Regions from separate parts of the Homo sapiens genome. Here region 2 is linked to region 1. Evidence: promoter capture Hi-C in human tissues and cell types (Jung and others, 2019). All regions are on one chromosome and are shown on one strand. The core of a region is centred on a gene start or on the middle of the fragment in contact, and the rest is flanking DNA. Distances in the headings are between cores, read along the strand shown. Region 1 holds the start of LRTM2 (leucine rich repeat transmembrane protein 2). Region 2 overlaps CACNA1C (calcium voltage-gated channel subunit alpha1 C).

Region 1 (6,468 bases), core at 1,571-4,070:
ACGGCAGGAGCCTGGACCGCTCCATGCACCTGCCCCTTCCATTTCTCCTCAGATGGAGGTTAATTAATCAGTCTCAGACTCTAGCTAGAAACCTCCAGCACACTCACCACAGACCTGGTGTCCGCACCCTTCCTCTCAGGCTTCTGCGCATGTCTATCCCTCCACATCAAGCATCCAAGACACACAGCCAGATAATGCCCATCGGGCCTCCACCTCTGAATTCCTGACTCCTGGGCCATCACACTAGCCCTAGGGTGTGCCCACTCCCCTGGCATCTCCCCTTGGTCAAGAGTCCATACCCCTCAGCATGGAAGAGTCACAGAACTCAGGGGTAAAGGGGGCATTTGCAGCCTACTCTGCCGCCCCCTTCACTCTGCAGAAGGCCAGAGAGAAGCAGAGCCACGACTGGGCCCACACCCTGGGCCTGCAGGGGCCGTGCCCTTCCACCAACCCCAGGAAGGCTGAGAGGGAGCCCGGAGAGTGGCCAGCCAGAGCCCCGGGCCAAAGACGGCCCGAGATTCCATGTGGCCAGGACGCAGGGGAGGCTGCCACAGCCGTCTAGGCTGGGCTCCGCCTACCGCTGCCTGTCTGGGCACCCAGGCCCTCTAGGACAGCTGCCCATCACCCCCATCACACACACTGCCCAGGCAGCAAGGAACCAGGTTTTAAAAATCTCTATATTTGTACTTGGAACAGCCATATACCCTCCTGGTTCATTTTAAAACACATGCCCCATCCTCACCCCCAGCCTCCTGCACCCCCGTTTCCTTGTCAAATATTCTCAATCTCAAACAGACCCTCTGGGAAGCAGAACAGAGAAGCCTCCTGAGTGGCCCCTCATGGGAGCTGGTCCCTGACATGAAGGAGGCTAAGGTGTCCACTGGGCCCTGGGGCCGGGCTCAGGGTGGTGTCCCTGGGGCTGGGCTCAGGGTGGTATTCCCAGGCAGGGCACAGGAGGCTTGGCTGGGGGAAAAAGGAGGAAGACCAGAGGGGCAGACAGCCTCTATGCTGGCTCCTTTCTCCTCTGCCCACCCCCAGAACTCCCAGACACCCCCAACCATCACATACATGCCATCCCCTCCTCCTTCCTACACTGCCCACTGAGGCCATAGCAGCCCAGAGGCGGCCCCTGGGCTCTGGTGCCTGGGAAACGGGAGCAGAGTTTGCTCCTCGTGGGCCCAGACAAGCTTCTGTCAAACCCCAAAGACACCAGATCGGCTGCTTAAGCAGCCTCTCTCCTTACCCCTCCCCGCGGGCCTGGCTTTCCTGGTCTCCCTCTTTTGGCAGTGCTGAGACTTTCTTTCTGCCGGTGGGGAGGTGGGGGTGGGAAAAGCTGGGCTCTTCTTGGCAGCTCGGAAGCTGCTGTCGGGTTTCCCTACCAGCTGGACTTCCCCCGCCTCAGCTCCACGTGCTCGGCTCCCTCCCCGCCCCCACCTGAGGCAGTTATCTAAGCTGCAGGGGTGTCATCTGAGTCACAAAGAGACACTGCCCAAGTAGCCCTGACAGCCGGGTGCCAACACCCCCCAGAAATGTGGACAGCTTGGGGGTGGGGGAGAGACAGGGCCGCCAACTGGAACCCAGCCCCAGACCTGCAGGGAGGTGCAGGAATGTGAACTTCCGACTCCTGGTCAGGCTGCTCCTCTCTCCAGCACTGTCCAAATGGGTCTGGGGGATTGAGAGCAACTGTCCCGCTCTACTCAGGGTGTCCATGCCCCCTGTGTGGGTCAAGAAGCCAGGCAGGCCTGGCCCCGCTGTGTACCCCCCACCCAAGCTCAGTGTCCAGCCCCCACTAAGGCTCCCTGACCCATTTGCAGATGGACGGCTGGGTGCACAGCTGCGGGACACCCCAGCAGGTTCTCGCGGGCCTGGTTCTCCTGTCTTGCCCTTGGGCTAGCAGGGAAGGGCTGCGATACTTCTCTCTCCTGCCCACTCCCAGCCTCACCCTCACCAGGGAGGCTTCATGCACAGCTGAGTGGGCCCATGCTCATCTGGGGGAGGGTTCCTCCACACCCTTGTCCAAGGACAGCCACCTGCAGGCAAGCTATAGGGAGGCCCAGGACCTGGGTCTGTGCCCATGCCTCTGACATCCAGGACCTCCTCCCTGCCACCCTCCACCCCAAGCCTTCCTCTGACCTGGCCCTGTCCCCAGCACCTGACTGCCATCCCAACCGCTTCCCATGACCCCCGAGTTTCTTGGGGCTGTCTGTGCAGAGCCGGGCACAACGACAGCACAAGGCTCTTGGCTGCTTCTCCCATGCTGCAGGGACCGGTTTCTATGCCACCCGGGACTGTCATCTGGCGCCAGCGCTGCCCTCCTCCCCACTTCCCAGCAGAATCCACAGCTCTTGTCCCCAGCACTGTGGGCTCAGAGTTCCCAGTGTCGTGCACCTTTGGGATGCTCAGGTGCCTGAGCCCGAGCAGCTTCTTCGGCCCCAGCAATTGCCTGCAGGTAGGAAGCAACTGCAGCTATTCCTGCAGGGCAGAGATGGCCGGTGCCCACTTCCCATGCCCCGACCACCCCCTGTCCCCACCAACCCTCCATTCCTTCCTACCAGCCACTCGGTACTCACCCGTCTTTACTCTGACTGCAAACGCCTTCAATCAGGTGGCTCTCAACCCTCCAGTAAGACCCTCCTGGGATTCCTATAGAAATCCAGACACCACCGGCAGGCAGAGCGCAGTGGGCACTGGTGCCAGAGTCTCCACTCAGCGGGAGCAGCGGCTGGCACGCAGCACACAGCACCAGGAGGTGGACTGCTTGTGGCAGACGGGGGACGGGGCTGCTGGGTCAGTCACAAACTGAGAAGGAAAGAGAGGGATGGAGGGAGAGAGAGAGAGGAGAGAGGGAAGAAAGGGGCGAGGGAGGAGAGCGCACGCGTGTGCGCGAGCAGCGAGCCAGAGTGGAGCGGGGAGTGACAGCTGGGGTGCATCTGTGATGACAGCGGCAGCAGCACACACAGGCGCACACCAGAGGCACCACGGCCGGCCGCGAGGGCAGCGCTCACCCTGGCCACGCTCACATTTCAGTGGAAAAAGGCGCCTGTGGATGAATCGCTGCCGACCACAGGGAGGAGGAAAGCGGTTTCACCACCACCTCCATCTTCCATCCTGCGCCTCCAGGCTCTCCCTCACCCCCCCGGCTGCACCTGTCTTCTGTGCCTCTCTCCTCTCTTCCCCTCCATCTGGGGAAAGAGGGACAGGCGCAGACACAGAGCAAGCGGCTGACTTCTGTTCCGATGGAGGCCCCCCTGGGAAGCTGGTCTTTCTCCTGTTTTAGAGACATGCGAGGCAGAGTCTCCCATCCTGCCTGAGAGAAGGAAAAACCGAACCCTTCTCTCGGTCATACGAAAGAAGGGTACACAGGCATGTCCATGTGCCAGATGACCCTACAGGAAAGGGCCCTGAGCCCCCACAAAGCCAGGGATCACATGGTCATGCAGAGGTCACTGAGCCTCAGGGTCTGACCACCCGACGCCAGGACTACTTAGGGAAGCAGAATGCCAGAGTTGGCAGGCTGGGAGTTTGGGCACAGGGCAGCCTGCAGCAGCAGCCTGCAGACCGTTCTCAGTGCCAGGGACGAGCTTGGCTTCTCAGGGCTCCTTGCTCTTATCTGTGATGGGTCAGGCATGCGAAGGGAAGAGACTGTCATTCAAGAACTTGGAGGCCTCTTTCTTAACCAATCAGGACAAAGCAAGTCAGAAAAATTGATATCCTAAGAGATGGGAAGTGGCTGATCTGAAGGCCAAGTGAGTCAGGGACCAAGCTAGAGGGGAGCCAGGGCCCCACCAGCCTGGAGCACGAACCCTAAATCCCCCTTCCTTTGCGTCCACTGCCTGTAGACAGATGAAGCACCGTGCTAGCGATATATCACCGTGTCCTATGTCCCTCTTCCATTTTGCCTGCTTTGCTGGAGGGGTTCACAGCCAGGACTGGGGTGGGTGTAGAAGAACCCCCTGGACTCAGGATGCCCCTAGAAGGATGCTCCTGCTCACTCCCTTCTGTCCGTTCTGCCGGGTCCCCGGGCAGCACAAGGCTTGAGCTGCAGTGTCTTTTACCTCTGGGGAGTCCCGCCTCTGACCTCTCATGCTGGTGCCTCCCACACATCCCACTGTCAAGCAAAAGAGGCTCCCACCTCCCCATAAACATACTTCCTGCTTCTCCATCTCCATGAAAGCGTGTTCTTCCCTGGGCCTGAAATGCTCTCCTGCCCATGGGTGGCTTCCCCCTTCCTTAAACGCCCCCTGCAAGGTGACGTTTCCCCGGAACACCACAGGACTGGCCCTGCTCCTCCTCCGATCTCTGGCATTCTCTTTGGGCCACCCTCATGTTGTGCAGGAGCTTTCTGTGGTCTGCTTCATCTCCTTTCCTTTTTTTTTTTTTTTTAATTTTTTTAGTATTTATTGATCATTCTTGGGTGTTTCTCGGAGAGGGGGATTTGGCAGGGTCATAGGACAATAGTGGAGGGAAGGTCAGCAGATAAACATGTGAACAAAGGTCTCTGGTTTTCCTAGGCAGAGGGCCCTGCCGCCTTCCGCAGTGTTTGTGTCCCTGGGTACTTGAGATTAGGGAGTGGTGATGACTCTTTTTTTTTTTTTTTAATTTATTTATTTATTTTTTATTGATCATTCTTGGGTGTTTCTCGCAGAGGGGGATTTGGCAGGGTCATAGGACAATAGTGGAGGGAAGGTCAGCAGATAAACAAGTGAACAAAGGTCTCTGGTTTTCCTAGGCAGAGGACCCTGCGGCCTTCCGCAGTGTTTGTGTCCCTGGGTACTTGAGATTAGGGAGTGGTGATGACTTTTAACGAGCATGCTGCCTTCAAGCATCTGTTTAACAAAGCACATCTTGCACCGCCCTTAATCCATTTAACCCTGAGTGGACACAGCACATGTTTCAGTGAGCACAGGGTTGGGAGTAAGGTCACAGATCAACAGGATCCCAAGACAGAGGAATTTTTCTTAGTGCAGAACAAAATGAAAAGTCTCCCATGTCTACTTCTTTCTACACAGACACGGCAACCATCCGATTTCTCAATCTTTTCCCCACCTTTCCCGCCTTTCTATTCCACAAAGCCACCATTGTCATCCTGGCCCGTTCTCAATGAGCTGTTGGGCACACCTCCCAGACTGGGTGGTGGCCGGGCAGAGGGGCTCCTCACTTCCCAGTAGGGGCGGCCGGGCGGAGACGCTCCTCACTTCTCAGACGGGGCGGCTGCCGGGCGGAGGGGCTCCTCACTTCCCAGACGGGGTCGCGGCCGGGAAGAGACGCTCCTCACATCCCAGACGGGGCGGTGGGGCAGAGGCGCTCCCCACATCTCAGACGATGGGCGGCCGGGCAGAGACGCTCCTCACTTCCTAGATGGGATGGCGGCCGGGCAGAGGCGCTCCTCACTTCCCAGACTGGGCAGCCAGACAGAGAGGCTCCTCACATCCCAGACGATGGGCGGCCAGGCGGAGACGCTCCTCACTTCCCAGACGGGGTGGTGGCCGGGCAGAGGCTGCAATCTCGGCACTTTGGGAGGCCAAGGCAGGCGGCTGGGAGGTGGAGGTTGTAGCGAGCCGAGATCACGCCACTGCACTCCAGCCTGGGCACCATTGAGCACTGAGTGAACCAGACTCCGTCTGCAATCCCGGCACCTCGGGAGGCCGAGGCTGGCGGATCACTCGCGGTTAGGAGCTGGAGACCAGCCCGGCCAACACAGCGAAACCCCGTCTCCACCAAAAAAATATGAAAACCAGTCAGGCGTGGCGGCGCACGCCTGCAATCGCAGGCACTTGGCAGGCTGAGGCAGGAGAATCAGGCAGGGAGGTTGCAGTGAGCCGAGATGGCAGCAGTACAGTCCAGCTTCGGCTCGGCATCAGAGGGAGACCGGGGAAAGAGAGGGAGAGGGAGACCGTGGGGAGAGGGGAGAGGGGAGAGGGAGTCATCTCCTTTCCTACACAGAGCTGTTCAAGCAGGGGGACTGGCCTCACCTGTTCCGTGTCCTTCAGGCCCCAGTGCCTTCGTGTCAACTGAGTGAGGAATGGAGGACATGAAAGAGCTCAAGACTGGGCATCAGGGGACCCAGACTCCAGACTCTGTTGCTCAGTGACTAGCTAGCTAGTGAGTTCACTCAGCAGCCCTGGGCCTTGTGCTGGCTGGGATTCCTGCCCTGCAGAATGAGGAGATGGGTTGAGATCTCTGGTCTCCCTTCTGGCACTGGCCTTCTGTGACCTAAGTATTCGCTGTGCACCTGTCGGGTCCTCAGCTTGTGTTACAAAAGATGATCCCTCTCATGCCCCACAGTCCCTATCCCGTGCAACACGCAGTCTCCTGGTTAGGTTCTCAAGACAGAGGAGGAGGAAAGAGAAGCAGATAAAGGGCTAGGAGGGCAAAGCTGGAGCTTCTGACTCCTGGGACCACAGCACTCAACAGTGTGCAAACTCATATGTTCATGTGCATGCTATGTATGTGCATGTGTGTGTACGT
Region 2 (6,468 bases), core at 1,718-4,217, 440 kb before region 1:
GGATTAAATCTGGTTGGGAAACCCAGTCCCAGTTACCCCACTGAGGAGCCTTATGGGCTCGGAAAATTGGTTTTTATGGACCTCAGGTTCTACATATGCAAGATGAAGATAACACCGTCCTCCAAAGACGATGATATAATTAAATTTAGTTGTTTTATCCCACATCATTTTTTAAGAACTTGAGATTTTTAAAATTTCACATTTAAAAAAAAAACTTGAGGAAAAAATGAGTTTTCAAAAATTAATGAGTAAAATACATATTTTAAAACAATATATACCAACCAAAAACACACAGTAAAATTATTCTGACTAATCACAAATGCTGGCCTAAGTTTCCTGGCAGTTAAACTGAAGAAGGGAATTATTACATAACTCTCATTATCTCATAAATTGAGAGGCGGAAACAAGCGAATTCCTCAAAGCAATGAATGAGATCATGTGTGTGAAAGCTTCTGGCAAATAACCAGAAATAAGATGTCATTATTAAGGTTTCAGGAAGAGGTGGGATATGAGCTTTACTATGGTGGGACAGGGCAGACCCCAAACACAGCAGGTGATGAGATGTAGTACAAAGAAACTCTGCCTCCCTCTTCTCTTTCCTTTGGCTTGGTTCTCAAACCTCTGCCTACTGCAGAGTGGGAGTGCACGTGCTGAAGGCAGATTGAGGGTGCTCTTCAATCAAGTTGAGAGTGTAGCATTCACTTGTATGAAAATGCCGCTTCTGTAGGTCAAAAAATATCAGTGATTTCCTAAGGTTAAACCTAACAGTAAGACCAAGTGAAGTGGAGGCAACAGGTATAAAGAATATACCATTTCAAGGCTGTCTTTGCAGTTCTAACAGTTAGAAAAGAACATTCTGAAGACTAGAGAGTTAAACCTTAGTTTGGAACCTCACTGCTTGAGAACCTGGGAGAATCTGGAGGAGAAGAGATCAATGAAAATGCTTAAAGACTTGGAGAGGAAGGGAACACGCTAGAGCGGGGGTCCCCAGCCCCCAGGTACCGGTCCATGGCCTGTTAGGAACCAGGCTGCACAGCAGGAGATGAGCGGTGGGCAAGCCAGCATTACAGCCTGAGCTCCAGCTCCTGTCAGATCAGCAGCAGCATTAGATTCTCATGGGAGCAAACCCTATTGTGAACTGTGCATGCTGGGGATCTAGGTTGCATGCTCCTGATGAGAATCTAATGCCTGATGATCTGAAGTGGAACAATTTCATCCCAAAACCATCCCCTCTCGGTCCTCCATGGAAAAATTGTCTTCCACGAAACTGATTCCTGGTGCCAAAAAGGTTGGAGACCGCTGTGCTAGAGAAGACTGAACTGTCCCACCACAGCCTGGTCCCGTCCTCCAGGGTACTCAGCTGGACTACATTTCTCAACCTCCTTTGGAGACAGGTGTGGCCCATGGCTGACTTCTGGCCAGTGAAATGTCAGTGAAAGTGATAGTCACAACTTCCGGGCCTGGACGATCTTGGCCGCCATTACAAACAACTGTGTTCATTCCTCTGTGACTGTCTGAGTGCTGGATGTTAACACCCAGGGAGGCCTGGAAAGCCACCAACGAAGACAGCAAAGCCCTGGTCCCCTACAATATGGAGCAGAGCCACCCCCGTCCTGATTGGGTTTACATTCTGTTGTGTTGAGTCACCACGATTTTTGAGTGCAACTGTAACATATCTGGTGTAATAGAAGAATGGATAAAGGAACTGTTGTTCTCATGCCCCCTCTAAAAAAGAGATAACTAATCCATTTACTATTTTAAAAGGTAGCATGCTGGTTTCCAAACCTGGAAACACCCATCAGAATCACCTGTGGAGTGTTTTAATCAAACAGATTCCTATACTACACCCTGAATCTCCTGAATTTTTCCAGGATTTTTTTTAAGTTCTTTAGGAGTTTACAACTGATCATTAGGCTGGAATCTGAGGATGGCTAGAAAGGATGTGGCTGCAATGCTGACCTGCCGATGTCCTCATTTCTCTACCCCTGGAAACGCGCCATCTGCTTTACGTCCTGGCTCTTAATCTTGCACCATCTTCTCGTCATCTCTAACTGGTTAACTGGTGTGTTTTATCAACTCAAGAACCCTGTACGCTCATCAGGGGCCAGGATTATAGCTTTTATATTTATTTTCCAAACAGCATGAAGCTAGACAGGTAATGAAAGCTCAATCAACACATTAATTCATTTGATTTAAGCAGTTGTTTTCTTCTATACCATCAGAATAAGGGGAAAAAGGGCTTTTCTAGCAACGTAGACACAGGCTAGACTTAGCAAAACAGTTCCAATTATGTGTTTAAGTCATTTTTAAGACACCAATGTGCCCAAGGTGACTGATTACCCCATGCATTGATGGAGAAGTAACCAGTTCTCAAAATTTAATATGTGCAAGGCTGAACTATGAAGCTTGTTAAAAATGTAGATTCCTGGGCTTAGCCTCCAGGTAGTCTGATCTAGTAGCTCCAGTGTAAGGCACAGGAATTTGCATTTATGATATTCCTCCTCCTACCCCATCCCTGAGTTGTGTGCAAGTGGCAAGAAACAGGAGGTGTGATTGTAAACTAGTAAGGTCAGGATCGTGTGATTGTAAAGTAGTCAGGTCAGGATCGTGTGATTGTAAACTAGTCAGGTCAGGGTCGTGTGATTGTAAACTAGTCAGGTCAGGGTCGTGTGATTGTAAACTAGTCAGGTCAGGGTCGTGTGGTTGTAAACTAGTAAGGTCAGGGTCGTGTGATTGTAAACTAGTCAGGTCAGGGTCGTGTGATTGTAAACTAGTCAGGTCAGGATCCTGTGATTGTAAACTAGTAAGGTCAGGATCGTGTGATTGTAAACTAGTAAGGTCAGGGTCAGGTCTATTTTGTTTAATGTGATATCCGTAGGGCCAAGCATATTGCTTAACTCACAATAAAGCTTATTATCTGTCCAATGAGGAGGAATCTCATCTGACTTATCCTAAACACTGCCCTTCCTTCCAGAAAGGAAATGAACCAGGTGACCCTCCTGGTCTTCTGAAGGCCACCAGCTTACTGTCACACACTTAGTAAACTGGGAAGTGCCCCTTCTGGCTGCCTCAGCCCCATCTGCTCAGAGTTCTAATTGAAGAGGCCGACCTCCTTTGATTGGCACTGCCTTCTTGCTGTGCCAGGGACCATCTGTAGCCACCACCTCCTGGCAGTTCAGACATCTCTTCCTTCTTGCAGGCATGGATGGGCAAGGACATTAGTAAATGGACCTGGATCTAGGAGAGAGGGCCTGCCTGTCACACCCCGAATGACCCCAGGTCTGTTAGCAAACTCCACACAGGTACTGAGAACTCCCACACCTGGGGAATGGTGCTTTCCTAGTAACTAGGTTTTTTTTTTTTTTTTTTCTGCAGCAGAATGCTGAGCATCCCATAACCGTGATTTCACTGGCTCTCACAGTACCTCAGTAAAACCAGGAGGGAGCACGGGTCTGTATCCATATTTTGCAGATGGCAAACAGAGAGGAAATCTGACTTGCCCAAGGTCACACAGCAGGTCAGCCATGAAGCCAGGGAGGGTACCCAAGCTCTACGCATCCACAGCCGTGGCATCTGCAGGGCCACAGCCCCTTCACAGGGGCGGGGAATCACAGCTGCTTCCATTTAAGGCTGTTGCTCCTCAATTTTACACAGGGGTATGTGCTCTTCAGAAAGGAAATACTAAGCTAAGCTTTGCCTCTCTTCACTTAAAAGACCTTCGGGATGAATCTCTTTCAGAGACTCAACTGCCATCCAAGTGAAGAGAGGACGGGGGGATATGAAAAGATCTTTTTCTTGGCAGTGGTAATGAACCTGTAGTTCTCAAAGTGTAGATGGGACGTATCAGAATCACCCAGGCACTTTCTCAACATATATCGTCCCCCATTCACAGATTCTGCAAGTCAACCAACCCCACTTCAGCCCTGACTCCATAGCAAATCTCACAATGGAGTAGTTTGAGTGGCTTTTTTCTTTTCCCTTATCCCACGGGCAGGTGTTAACAGCAAAGGGGACAGGGGTGAGCAGTAGGAAGGGGAAGCCTGGACCCTGGACAATCCACAGCAGAGGGTGCGGAGCTGACATCCCCTGTGCCAGTTTGCCGCAGCACGATACAAAAGGTGCACAGGACACAAGAGTAATGGGGCAATCCGGGCCCACACCTTCGTTCTCATACTAAGAGGAAAACAGAAAATACAGGGTTACAGAGTTCACAGCCAACACTCAAAACAACAGACTGGAGTATGTGTCTAAGGAAGACATGAAATGGAAGGGCCACTACAGACAACTGGCGGTTGAGAAGATAAGACTCAGCCTACATCCTCCAGAAGCATACTGACAGACAGAGTCTGGGGTCGTTTGAGGCTCTCCTCTGTACTGATACTCTCCACCCCACTCCCTGAGAACAACTGGAGGGAGGGTGCCTGCCTAGGGGCTCTCGAGTGGTGAGCACAGTGCTGGGCACACACAGTAAAGCTCCAGAAAAGTGAGTTGTTTTTGCATTGCGAGTTTTTCTGGACTGTGTCAAGTTTTACTTTAAATAAGGCACATCCAAACTAAGAAGTGCCCAGGTGAGGTTGGTCACCCAGTGATGGCTTCCAGGCTCACCAGCACACCCTCAGTCCTATCCATGACTGAGCCCTTCCCATCCAGCCCTCCCCTGGATCCCAGTACTGTTGCTTCTCCCACTCAGTACGCATCCCTTACTTCCCTGTTGGTTTCAAAGTTTTCTCTCTCCAGTGATCCCATAAATCAGGCATGTGAGACAGAAGGTTTTCACATCATGTATTAAAGGTTATTAAGTGCTCCCAATGAGATAGAAGAAATCTTCCATTGCAACATGAGAGGCATACTTTGGACATCAGAATGAATAGTGGTAAGCGCTACTTAAACAATGTAGGTTACCAGTGGATGGACGGAGAGGCAGAAACTGACATTTACTGACTACCTACGTGTGTGAATGTGCTTGATTTTATTTAATCCTCAACACCCTCCTGCGAGGAAGGTATCATTATTTCAGGGATGAAGAAAGAGGAAAAGAATAGCATTTCCACAGCAGATGTTCTTAGAAAACAGAAGCCACGGACTTAGGTTCCAATGACTTGCAAATAGTACCCTGGTGGGGAAAAGTATGCACATATGTTTGGCCTCCACTGTACCCAGAGCTGCTTGGAGAGCCTTCCACATGGATCAGTCAATGACCAAGGAGGAGTTCTAAGCCTTTGGGTGGCAGCCAATAAATAATCATCCTTTCTGCCCCTTATAAACTCAGAACCAATTAAGAAGTAAGATATAGGACACACAGATTAAATCAAACCAAAAGCTTGATTAGAAACAAATTATAAAATGGAGGAAGTGGCTTAGACGGGCTTCGAAGGACTTCCTAATATTTCAACCACTATTAAATGTACTTACCCTGCCAGAAGGTGAGACCATCACAGGTTTTCCCCACAGGGCCAGATCAGTCCCAATAACTTGGTGAACCCTTCTTTGGGGATAAGTGGATTCAAAAGAGAGTCCCAGAAGGGGCTACACCAAACTCACCAGTCAGATAGGTCACTTCTCCCCTGGGGACAAGGGCATAAAGAGACAGGGAAAAGTGGGATGTGTTCCTGCCATACCTTCCCTTCCGGGAACATGAGCTAGAAACTCCCTCCTTCCCCTGCCCATGTAACACAAGGGGTAGGGAGTAAATGATATTCCTTTTGCGGGAGAGGGCCATCAACACTTTCAAGCTAACTCGAATGTATGGGAAAGACTGAAAAAAAAAAAAAAAGTTAAACCCATGGACCCAGCAAAGTGCCATCCTCTAAGGAGGACTTGGAAGGACCCAAGAAAGTCTTGGGAAGTAAAAACTGGGGAAGAGTAAGAGCTTAGAAAAAAGAAAGAAGGGGTTTGACCTAACAGGTCTGTAACAGAAAACATACAGCTGTCCCCGCACAAACACCTTCATCTGATCTGGAATTTGCTCTACATAGAACCTGAATAATCTCCTGGAACCCACCAGGCCTCTACCACCTACAAAGGCAACCTTGACATTTAAAGTGCATAACTCTTGTCCCTGCTTCTTGATAGACAGTGGAGGACAAATGATGACTCACACAAGAAGCCCCCAAGCCTGCTCCGGGGCTTCTTAGCCTCAGCTGCACGGTTGCTGCTTTCCATGTCCTTCCACCTTCCACTCAGCACGTTGGCCTCCCAGAGGGTCCTCTTTCTACACTGTCCTACAACCCAAACGTTTGTGTATCGTATCAGAGCTGCTGATGTGAAGAAGCCTTTGACTGTGGCCAGATTGCAGAGGCCACTCTGTCTAAACCAGCCCTTTTTTGGACTTTCTTTTTCAGGCGGACTATTTACACACTTCAAGCAAGCCCCACAAGAGCCCCCAGCAAATAATACATTCATCCAAGCAGCCATCTCTGGTGGAAAAAAATCGTTATTAATTGGGGTTACAGCACTCATTTTAACCGC

The links. The method cuts DNA at HindIII sites, captures the fragments that hold promoters and counts their contacts. A contact is called where the count stands out against the background at its distance.
Region 2: a contact is called between a fragment that was not itself captured here and the fragment with the promoter of LRTM2 in region 1, in 4 of the 25 tissues and cell types used here (IMR-90 fibroblasts, dorsolateral prefrontal cortex, mesenchymal stem cells and 1 more).

Annotation. Positions count from the first base shown.
Region 1 is chr12:1,816,917-1,823,384 of GRCh38, reverse strand. LRTM2 (leucine rich repeat transmembrane protein 2) reads right to left here and starts at 2,820. Exons shown (of 5, transcript NM_001039029.3): 1 at 2,571-2,820. The region is part of intron 26 of CACNA2D4 (calcium voltage-gated channel auxiliary subunit alpha2delta 4); the gene reads left to right. It overlaps LOC105369601 (a long non-coding RNA gene), which reads right to left. Exons shown (of 5, transcript XR_931546.3): 5 at 4,579-6,151. RefSeq lists an enhancer at 2,504-3,250. The HindIII fragment of the contact is 8,239 bases long and covers 1-6,468 here.
Region 2 is chr12:2,252,170-2,258,637 of GRCh38, reverse strand. The region is part of intron 3 of CACNA1C (calcium voltage-gated channel subunit alpha1 C); the gene reads right to left. Among named protein-coding and RNA genes, the nearest start is that of CACNA1C-IT3, 14 kb to the left of the region's middle. RefSeq lists enhancers at 2,196-2,695, 2,696-3,197. The HindIII fragment of the contact is 3,079 bases long and covers 1,428-4,506 here.